Linked DNA regions of Homo sapiens: region 2 is linked to region 1. Evidence: promoter capture Hi-C in human tissues and cell types (Jung and others, 2019). All regions are on one chromosome and are shown on one strand. The core of a region is centred on a gene start or on the middle of the fragment in contact, and the rest is flanking DNA. Distances in the headings are between cores, read along the strand shown. Region 1 holds the start of GULP1 (GULP PTB domain containing engulfment adaptor 1). Region 2 overlaps GULP1 (GULP PTB domain containing engulfment adaptor 1).

The links. The method cuts DNA at HindIII sites, captures the fragments that hold promoters and counts their contacts. A contact is called where the count stands out against the background at its distance.
Region 2: a fragment that was not itself captured here is called in contact with the fragment with the promoter of GULP1 in region 1 in 1 of the 25 tissues and cell types used here (IMR-90 fibroblasts).

Annotation. Positions count from the first base shown.
Region 1 is chr2:188,289,358-188,294,772 of GRCh38, forward strand. GULP1 (GULP PTB domain containing engulfment adaptor 1) reads left to right here and starts at 2,517. Exons shown (of 12, transcript NM_016315.4): 1 at 2,517-2,809. RefSeq lists an enhancer at 4,369-5,252. The HindIII fragment of the contact is 13,352 bases long and covers 1-5,415 here.
Region 2 is chr2:188,434,244-188,439,658 of GRCh38, forward strand. The region is part of intron 2 of GULP1 (GULP PTB domain containing engulfment adaptor 1); the gene reads left to right. Among named protein-coding and RNA genes, the nearest start is that of MIR561, 140 kb to the left of the region's middle. The HindIII fragment of the contact is 4,224 bases long and covers 821-5,044 here.

The DNA of each region.
Region 1 (5,415 bases), core at 1,267-3,766:
TCCCTTCTTCACTTCCTGGGGCATGCTATAAATTTGTTTTAAAATCTTGTTCCATTTGGTTCTATTGTTTTTAAAAACTTGGTTCTGACACTCTTGAGATTTTTATACCTCTAAGCCATTTCACAAAGAAGATCATATCAAAAGTCAGGTTATAAAAATTACAAAGCAATAGCAAGTTTAAAGACTTTAAACAGTGGGAGAAAATATAAAAGTGAGTAATCTTTAGCACTGTATGTAACGATTGGAAAAAGACAGTTATGAGGACTCATCTATCTTCATTTATCCATTCATGATGGATGTGCTTTGTAGCCATATTTTTTTTTCCCTCTTTAGGATCTTCCAAGTCTTATGGATAGGAAAGACAGATCTCTAAAGAGGCTATGATATGCCTTTAGGAAACTGAGGATGAGGCCGGAGTAGTAAATAACTCTTACTTAGAAGGAGTATATAGGGTCTCATCCCTGAGAACATGGGAGTTAGTTATGTAAATGTTCAGATGATTTTCAACATTGTATATGGTAAGGAAGAATTTTTTAAAAAGACCTTCTTACAGGTACTAGAGGCAAATGAATGAGAAATAAGTACATGCTATGGGATTTTCCATTATTTCACAGGATGGAAAGTTTGATCTCTGTAGCCTGATTTTGTTCTTTGGCCTTGAACTTGTTCAAGTTGAATTGTGTGTCCTGAACACTGATCTAGTTGTTCACAAACTAGGGTCAGCCAACTGTAGTGGTATGTTGATGTATTCTTGGGAATCGAGAGTTATTATAATCTTTTAATATTATGGCTAAAAAACCCAAAATATCTATGTGTAAATATATAATGTAAGCATGGATTCGTTCATCTCATCAACCTCCTTATTCCTAAATACTGGACTACCATTTGTTTTATTTTTATAATCACATTGATACCAAGTGATCATCTAAATGACATTATTTAATTTTTAATGATTGTTCATAAATTAATTGCTTAAGAGTTATTTACAGAAAAAAACTAGCATTTGTCCTGAGATTAATATTTTTAATATAATTATTTTTATGTGTGCTTGACTATTGTGATAAAGAGAAAAACAGTTAAAAGAGGACCCCAGCCAAGTTATTATGAGGACTGATTTCTGATATTAGCTTTAGTACCTCCAAACCATGAGATTTGGGGAAAGTCACTTAAGAGCCCTAGACTTCAGTTACCTTGTATTTAAAATAAGGGAGTTCAGCTGGAACTAGTTAATCTGTAAACATAGTTTCCATTTCAAAAATTGTGAAATGATGCCTTTTTAAATGGAAAAAGCATTAAGGAGAAGAAAACTGATTCAGTTACAGGGTCTTTGGGGGAAAATTTCTAGCACCACCCTCTCTCCTAATTACAGTAAAACATGGTGGGATATAAGAACCAAATATTTATTGAGTATTTTCTCTGCGCCTATCACAACTCTATTTTAACTCCTGTAAATGTGACTGTGACTCCGTGAGCTAGATTATAGAATTCCTGTTGACAGTTATAATTGGTAGGCACAGAAAGCGTAAAGATGGAGTTTGGAATGGAATCTGGCCTGTCTGACTCTAAGCCCTGGATCCACTGTAATACATTATAACTGCTAGCTTTGCAAAATGCCTTTTTCCTTTTCTCATCTATTTTCACACTCAAACTAAAATTTAGTAAACTAAATTCTGAGCAGCAGAAAAAATTTTAGTAAAGGTCCTCTCATCCTTGAAGAACTTCTTATATAAGGATACTCCTTCTTGCTCCCTTTCCCACGCAGAACTTTACCAAAGGTCAGTAAGAATGGGCTGTTGTGTTTTCTCTCAAATCCTATACAGAAGTCCTTAATTCCGAGGTAAACATCTGAATGGAACAAATGAGTATGATCTGGGGGTTAAGGCAATTTTCAAGTGTGTGTATGTGTGTGTCTGTTTTAAGGCATAACAAAGTCCAGAGATTAAGGCCGAGTTAAAAAACAAATGAGGACAAACCAATGAGGACAAACCAGTCCGCTGAGGTGCGGCCAGAGCAGCAGCAACTGTGGCTGCTTTCTTGATAAAGGCTGTGAAGACGGCACGTTTTACTCTTATTCGTGTATTTCTTTTGACACTTTACCCCTCTATGAAGCCTCAGAGGTGTTTTAAAATTGTGTTAGGAAACACACAGAGATAAGAAAAGGCAAATGGTCCTGATCTAGTGTCTCAGGGAAGAGGCTGGAAAGGAAACGCGGCGCGAGTGGGGTGGGAGAGGGGGCCTGTGGTTTTGCTTCTGTCCGGGCTGAAGACTGAGTAAGGTAGGGCCCCTCCTTCTGCGGATGGGTTTCTCTCTCATTCCACCCTCCACCCACCTCCGGTTCCGCGTGCACGCGCGAGATAGTCCAGTGGGCCCACAGATAACGACCATCAGAGATTAAAGAAGGAAAGTCAGCGAGCTTGAACACAGGCGTCCCGTGTGGAAATGTCCAAGGAGACCGCCAGAAGTGCGCAAGCCGGAGTCGGCTAGAGTTTCCTTCTCACCGAGAGGGGGAGCCCGGCGTTCCCGGCCGGGAGCGACCCGGAGTCCCCAGCCCCGCGTCCCAGCTGCCGCCAGCGCCAGTTTTGGATTCGGCGGATTAGGAAGAGGAGGGAGGGGGGAGAGAGCGCGAAGAGGGAGGGGACCGAAGCTGGAGGGTCCCGAGTCCAGCGCCGTGTTGGCGTAGAGAAACTTTCCCTCTCGGCCTCGGAGACGGCGCCCCGGCCGTGCCGGAGTGGAGATCGCCAGGCTCGGAGGAACCGGCAGCTCTCCACGCCCCTGCCCGAAGCCTGACCCGACTGCCTCTCTCAGTGAGGTACGGAGATTTATCTAGGCTCTTCCCTGGCTGCGAACCCAGGCTCCCTCCAGGTAGCGTGGAATCGCTTAGAAGCTGATATCCCGAGGGGCGGTGGGGGTGGACAGCTCCGGCCACCAGTGCCCGGGAAGGAGGGCGCGGGGCTGCGCGTAGCCGCTGGCCAGCAGGTTGTAAAAAATTAGGACAGCTAAATGCTCAGGGAGTCGTCCAGCACTAAAGGAGGCTAAGACCTGTTGACGCCTGCTATGGCAGCGCTTGAGAAATGACTGGGGGAGTCCAGCGAGGTCGGGGACGCAGCGGTCTCCGGGCTCCAGAAACCTCCTTAGCCTTTTGTGGTAACTTTGGTCCGGCGGCGGGGGGCCGGTGAGCAGGAACTGGAGGGAGGCGGTGGGGAAACCGTGGATCCGTCCGGCTGAGGGTGCGTGGATCAGACTGGGCTGAGCAGGCAAGTCATCGTCGGGTCACAGCGAGGCGACCCAGGAGCGAACTTCCAGGGCAGCCTCCCTTTTGTTGGCGCTGGGAGAGAATGTGGGCATGGGGGTGGGGAGGCGCGAAGCTCCGAGGCCGGGCCGCGGATACTTTAAAGCTCAGAGCTGGGAGGGCCCAAAGGAAGGGGCGGCGTCCACATGGTTACCCTTCTGCTGCGCGGGTCAAGTAGCTTCTTCTGGAGGGCGCAAGGCGCGGCGGGGGTGATGAGCCCTTGGGTTCTCGCTCCGACTGCTAAATTCGCTTGGCCGGGTCCACCTTCTCGTGGCCTCACTCGCCACACGGATCAGAATCCGGAGCAGGCAGTTCTCTCTATTCTGAGGCTCCTGCGGCTGCCGCGCTGACTTCCCTGTGTGCGGGAGGGAACTCTGGGCAGGCTGGTTTTCTTGGAATGTGTTTACGATGTTGAATGGGACTTGAACAGGAAGCTGGACGCTGCAGCTGGAACTAGCGTGCCAAGGTAGAGTAAGGAAGACTTAGCTGGTGTTGGGCTTGGCGGGTCCACTTGGTACGCTGGGCAAACTCCAAGTAAGTGAGGGCTGGCAGTCAAGGTACCCCTCCCTAGGTCCTAGTAGTGTTTCCCAACTGAGCTCGCCTTACTCATTTGCAATCAGACATTTTACATGCACTATTTCAATCTGCAAGTTTGACAAAGTGTAATGCAGTCAATTAGGAAGGATTTAATAAATTTATTTTGTGCCTGCTTTTAAAATACGTTACACCAACATTTGAGAATAAAAAGTTACGGAGAATGTTCAAGTCATGACTGATTTCTAGGACTAGCAGGAGACAATACTGATGATTTTGTGTCTGTATTACAAAATGGGTGATTAGGTGCTAAAGTAAGGGAGATTATTAGACAGAGTGAATGTGAGGAAGTGGAAAACTTTCAGAGGAATTGGAAATTCTTCAAATTTGCAAATTGCTCCCTTTCTCTGCCAGTCTTTCCCTTTTCCCCCCATATGAACAAGTAGCCTTGGCTGGAAAACCCACAAATTGGGAGAGTGCAGTCGCTGGTGACTACAGGCTTTGCTGGAAACAGCAGACAGGCTAAGGTACTGCCCCACTGCATAATTAAAGGTCTCCTTGAGCTGTCCAGGAGTGTTTTCCAAGTTTTTACGACTGACAAGGAAAAAAAGAGAGGAACCTGGCCGGCAGCCAAACTAGACTGAGCTCAGTAGCCAGGCATGAAAGAGACTGGGCAAGTTGCAGGGGCTAATTGGAAAGGGGCTGTCGGTTGCACTTGGGGTTTAAACAAGAGGTTTCTTTTGCAATGAGAATTTTTAGGTGGCTAAGATCAGTCTTCTTGGCAAAAAAATAAACTAAGCATAGAGTGCAGTTGGATATGACCGAGGAAATTACAAAAAGGGCTCCAGGAGCAAAGTCTGAACTTTCCTTATCAGTGTTGCAGTGGAATAGCTGGGGGCCTGATGCTGTTTGTGCTGATCATACTTTGCAAATGCCCACACTTTGTTGCTGTTTGTCTCCTTGGACGAGGTTTGCTGCAACTTCAATTCCTTGACTTCGGCCTTACTTTGTTTTCATAGCAGCAAGAATTGAAGACTTAAGGGTTTGAGCAGATGGTTTTCTACCTAAATTGAATAATTCAATTACGTATTCTCAGCTAGCATGGATTTGGGTCATGGAATTAAAGTAGAAACGTATCCGGCATGACTTCTTTGTGCTTATCAAAAGTGATCCTGATAAACAGATCTTGCTCTTTCATGTAAAGAAGTAAAAGGTGAGATGATCTCAGTATTTCACACATTTGCCCTTTACTGCTTCCTAATTCCAAACCAGCTAGGAACTCAAAGCCTTAACTGCAATTCAGACTCTTCTTTGTGTATTAAAGTTGTGTATGTTTCATCTCTCTTTTTTTTTTCTTCAGAGAGGTGGGTTGTAGGTTTACTATTGTGGGCTTAGGGGTTAAATGGTTAAAACAAACAAACAAACAAACAAACTAATGTGGTTTATATTTCCTCTGTATTTAAGAGTTTGAGATTGTGAATATTAGCCTGCTTTCTGAGACTCACTTTGTGAATCACCCTCAGCCAAATGTTTTCCCTGACTATGATTTCAGTTTTTCCACTTGCAAAGTAAAGAAACTTTCCTTTACATAA
Region 2 (5,415 bases), core at 1,683-4,182, 150 kb after region 1:
AACTTTGATTACAGTCTATTTTTCTTTCTCCTTTATAAAAAATGCCTTGGAGTTCTTTCCCTACATTCCCAAAGTTTCTTTTTCTTTTTTTTTTAATTTTAAAATTTTGCTAGAATTTGAGTAGAATATGTCTCCTTCTTGGTTATTATGGTGACTTTGCCCAAGTTTACAACATACTCTTGATATGTACATGTTTTTGAATTTAAAGTATTTTTTTAATTTTTAATTTTAGTATCCATTCTGCCTCTTGTTTTGGTTTACTTCTTTGAGGAGTCTTATATGTTGGATTTTTTTTTCTGCCTTCCATATTTGTGACATCCTTTTGAATCATTTTTCTTCTTTTTTTATTTGAACATTTTCTTATGTTTATATTTTTGTTTTTTTTATAGTGCTACCCATTTTGTTGCATTCTTTCTGGTTCATTTTTCCTTTTAGACATTACTTACTTTCCTTATTTTTAAATTTCCTGAGTTCTATCACCCAATTTCTGAGTTTTTCTAATTTTTATTCATATTGTTTTTTCATATCTTCTATTTTCTTAATTGCTTTTAGCTCATTTTGAAAAATTAGGCTAGAGTTTTAATCTGATTTGTTGACAATTTTTGTATGCTTTCATTGCTTGTAGGGATGTTATTTTCTCCTCCTTTTCTTTTATAATCTTATCACAACTTTACATAAGATGTGAGCACAATGTTTTGTTCATTTTTAATTTTTGTCATGAGATTAGACTTTCTAAGATTTTAAACAAAGGTAGTGGCTTACAATATCTTTTCTATATTTATAATTTTGTAACTCTCAATTCTGGTGGTTTTAATAGATAGAAGTATAGCTTCATACTTTCAGATTTATCCTGGCCTTGTCTTCTCCCCAGTGTTTTTCTGGACTTTTTCTTTAATCACTCTTATTCCAGTTTGTCTCAGTTGGTTTTTATTTCCAAAATTTACCTTTAATATAAGACTTAGTCCTGAAAGGTAGCTTTTGGGAATTCATATGACTCAGATTGTTCCAACTCTTTTTGATCTGAACACAAACACAAACCTTTGCCCTTGCCAGTGAGTTGGCTTAGAAAATGCCCTTTCAATTACTGCTGATCTCATTGACAACCTGTTGCCTATTTTGGTATGTTAAACGGGCTTTTGGTATCCTTTATTTTCTCCAACACTGATGCCGCTACCATGAGTGTCTTCTGACTATTAATGGCTTACTCTCACTCAATTCCATTATAAGAATCTTTGAGATAGCTTGTGCATTAATTTCCTATGTCTTATAACAAATTCTATGCCACATGATACACTTGGCTGCTTAAAATTACAGCCATTTATTACTTCACATTTTTTGTGTGTCAGAAGTCCCATAGACTTACCATACCTGTGTCCTTGGCGTAGGGTATCACCAGGCTGAAATAAAGGAGTTTTCTGGGCTGTATTCTCATCTGTGGACTCTACTAGAGAAGAATCTGCTTCAGAGATCCCTCAGGTTGTCGGAATTCATTTCCTTGCATGCAGCTGCACAATTTATGGCAGGATGCTTCTTCAAAGCTGTTAAAGGAGAGACAAAGGCTGTACTTTTTGTAGTCTCTAATGTTAGGCAAAGACTGGGATCTCTCCATAGGCAGTTCTTAACATGGCTCTTTCCTTCTACAAGGCCAGAAGAATCTCTTTTCTTTAAAAAGGCCCAGTCCCTCTTTTAATGAATCTCACTTGATTAAGCCAGGTCTACGCATGTTAATTTCTCTTTTAATTAACTCAAAATCAACTGTTTTGAGACCTTAATTATATCTACAAAACCTCTCCATCTTTACCATGTAACTTAAGGTAATCCTGGCTTTGATATTCCATTATATGCATAGGTCCTTCCCACCCTCAAGGGGAGAGATTGTACAGGGTGTGTACACCAGGTGGGCAAGGATCTTGGGGTCCATTTTAAAATCCAACCATCACAGCTTGCCACCTATTTTTGTTGTAGATTTTGTTCCTGTTTTTGTTTGTTTGTTTGTTTTGCTATTCTGGTTGTATTATCTTTTATTATGGAGGAATTCACAAACTAGCCATCATGATTACCTTTCCCTAAAATCCTTTAATTAAAGTTTTGTATATTAACACAATTTAATAGGAAGTAATACAATAGTAACAAAAGACACTACAGCATCATAGGTATGATATTCCGATATCAAAGTATAGGTCCTCAGTCTCTCATCATTTTGATTTAAAATTACTTTCCTCACTGATTTAGCTGATCCTCCCAAGTTCTCATTATAGAAACATGTTCATGTCTCCATTATAGCAATTAGTACATTTTATTATCTATATTCTTTGACCCTTGATTTCTAAACTGGCAAACATGGATCCCTACAGGAAATTCAAGGAAAAAAGAGACATTAAAATTTGTATTAAAAGTTATTTTTTATTTTTTAACTTTTGACTTATATTTTCAGCTATATTTCATAATATGTGCACTAATTTAACAGGTAGTTTATACATATAGTTTTAAATTGAGTATAATATGTGTTCTGTAAGAATATATTAATTTGTACATATTTTGGGGCACATGCTCAAACATTTTTCACATACAGTGTTCATGAAGAAAACATTTTGGAAACCACTTTTTAGATAGTGAACTATTTTAATAGGTGCTGTATATCTCTATTTCTATCCATAGATCTTTTGCACTTGGCACATACATAAAAACAATAAAATGCAGCTGTTCTGCAATAAACTAACATAATGTTATCACTTACCTGGACCACAGCATTATCCACTATAGTTCTATCTTCTTTTATTAGCTTTACCATATCAGTTCTGGTAGGACAACTTTTCTAATATGTCCTTGTTTTTAGTATGTGAAAACTATCAAATTATGTTTTTCATATTATATGCTAATATCTGTTTACTGATAGGATGAATATCTTGCAGAAATGTCCCTGAATCTTTCATAGAAATGTTAACACTTATGCTTTCCAGGTTACATTTTGTGTCCAAGGAATGAAGAGTATTAAAATCTAAATTTTTTCATTGTGTTTGCAAATGCTCTTTCAGGCTCTTTAAAATTCAGAGCCCAAACGATCTAATTGGCAGTTGTACATATCAAGCTGAAGTTAGAATTGATTATACATTGCGATCATCTGTTTGTTCTATTTAGAGGTGAAAAAGCATTTCTTTTCCCACTTTGGCTTCAGTATTTGTTTGGCAATCAAAGTACTTGGACTTGTAAGTTACATCAGTGTAAAATACTTTTTTAAAAATGAGATTTTTAAAAAATGTATTCTTTAAAATAATGTTTAGTAGTTCTGAGTTCAAAGAAAAGACATTCAACCCAGCAACCCCATTACTGAGTATACATCCAAAGTAATAGAAATCATTCTACCATAAAGACACGTACATGTGAATGTTCATTGCAGTGCTATTCACAATAGCAAAGACATGGACTCACCCTAAATGCCCATCAGTGACAGATTGTATAAGGAAAATGTGGTACATATACAGCATGGAATACTATACAGCCATAAAAAGGAAGATCATGTCTTTTGGGGGAATATGGATGGAGCTGGAGGCTGTTACCCTTAGCAAGCTAACTTAGGAACAGAAAACCAAATACCGCATATTCTCACTTATAAGTAGAAGCAGAATGATGAGAACTCATGACACGAAGAGGGGAACAACAGACACCAGGGTTACTTGAGGGTAGAGAGTGGGAAGAGGGAGAGGATCAGAAAAAATACCTGTTAGGTACCTGGCTTAGTGCCTCGGTGATGAAATAATCTGTAAAACAGAGCTCTGTGACATGAGTTTACCAGTATAACAAACCCACACGTGCACCCTGAACCTAAATTAAAAGTTTAAAAACATTAAAAAATAAATACATAAAAAATACAAACGCAGTGATGGGAGTTCTAATATATACTTCTATTGTGGTTTGAGAAACCAAGACTAAGGTTAATATAAAATCTTATCCAGGACAAACAGAATTAAAAAGCAGCTGTGCAAATGCATTTCAGCCCCCAACTTGCACTTGCATTTCATCTTCCAACATCTTATTGGCCAATGCAGTCGCATGCCCAATTTCAAAGCTTGCCCTCATGAAGTCACATCAAGAGTGTGATATATACATATATAGATATAGATATATCACATGTATAGCATATATTATGTATGATACATTATATAATTATTTTAATAATTATGTCAAATACATAATATATGACTACCAAATTATTAATAGTTATATAATCAGTATATTAACATAACAATTATTAATATAATTATTCTATTAATAGTCTAATAATTACAGTAAAAATCTATAATAATTTTGTTTTTTTCTGTCATTTCTTACTTCCTATTACATTGTTACTGGTTAATTGCATTATTCCCAATTCTTTGTTCTCCTGCTATATATGTTATATATGTCTGCCACATAGAATATATATATCACAAAAAAAATGTAAAGAAGGCACAAAATAAACTTGCATGAAAAAATCCAAACACATCAGTAGTCAAAAGGAAATAAAGTAGTTAAAACACATGTTTTCAGACTGAAATAAATATAAATCTATATGCTGCTTAGAGAACTATATTAGTTTACACAATGCTTAATATTATTGATTTGTATGTTTTCATGTCTGTAACAATAAACTGTGTTGCATAATATAAAAGAGAAATGCCTTCACTTATATACTATATATGTTCCAGAAATGTATAAATATCTAGTTGCATTTAAAAGTTTTGGAACCAATCCTTTCTTAAAAAAGAACTCTCTATGAATTGTTTGTTAAATTAGGAATATTATTAATTTATCATTTTAAATTGTACTCTTCTCCGGAAACCATATTTAATTCTTTTTCTTATTTCCAGGAGAGCATATTTCTACCAACTATTGTTATTCAATAAATGTTTAGAAGTCTTGGTTAGCTGATAATCTCAACATTCCAGAGAAAAGTAAATTCAGAGAAAGTAAGAGCTGTTGGAGTTGGAAAGGGATGGATTTCATAAAGATTAAAATTTAAAACATCAATTTTACAAATGAAGAAACCTTAAAGAACATTTTTCATTTTGTATGGCATTTTAATCATCATAATTTTCTAAATTCCTGTCTGGTTGCAAATTAGAACCATTAAATTAAAGTTAGAAGAAAAAAAATTCTACCAAAATACATAAGCAGACAAAGACGTATATATGTATAAGAATGTCATTTACAGCATTCTTTCTGTATCTCCAATACCTGAATATCTATTGTTTGGTTAAATAAATTATAATGTATCCACACAATGGAATGGTAATTGGCCTTTAAAAATGTGAGATGTGAGAAAAAGACTATGCATGTGTGTACACATATACACACATGCTACTGGTGTGTGTGTGTATGCGTATTTGTTTGTGTGTTCTGTAATGTTATACACCAAATTGCTATCAGTGGTAAGGA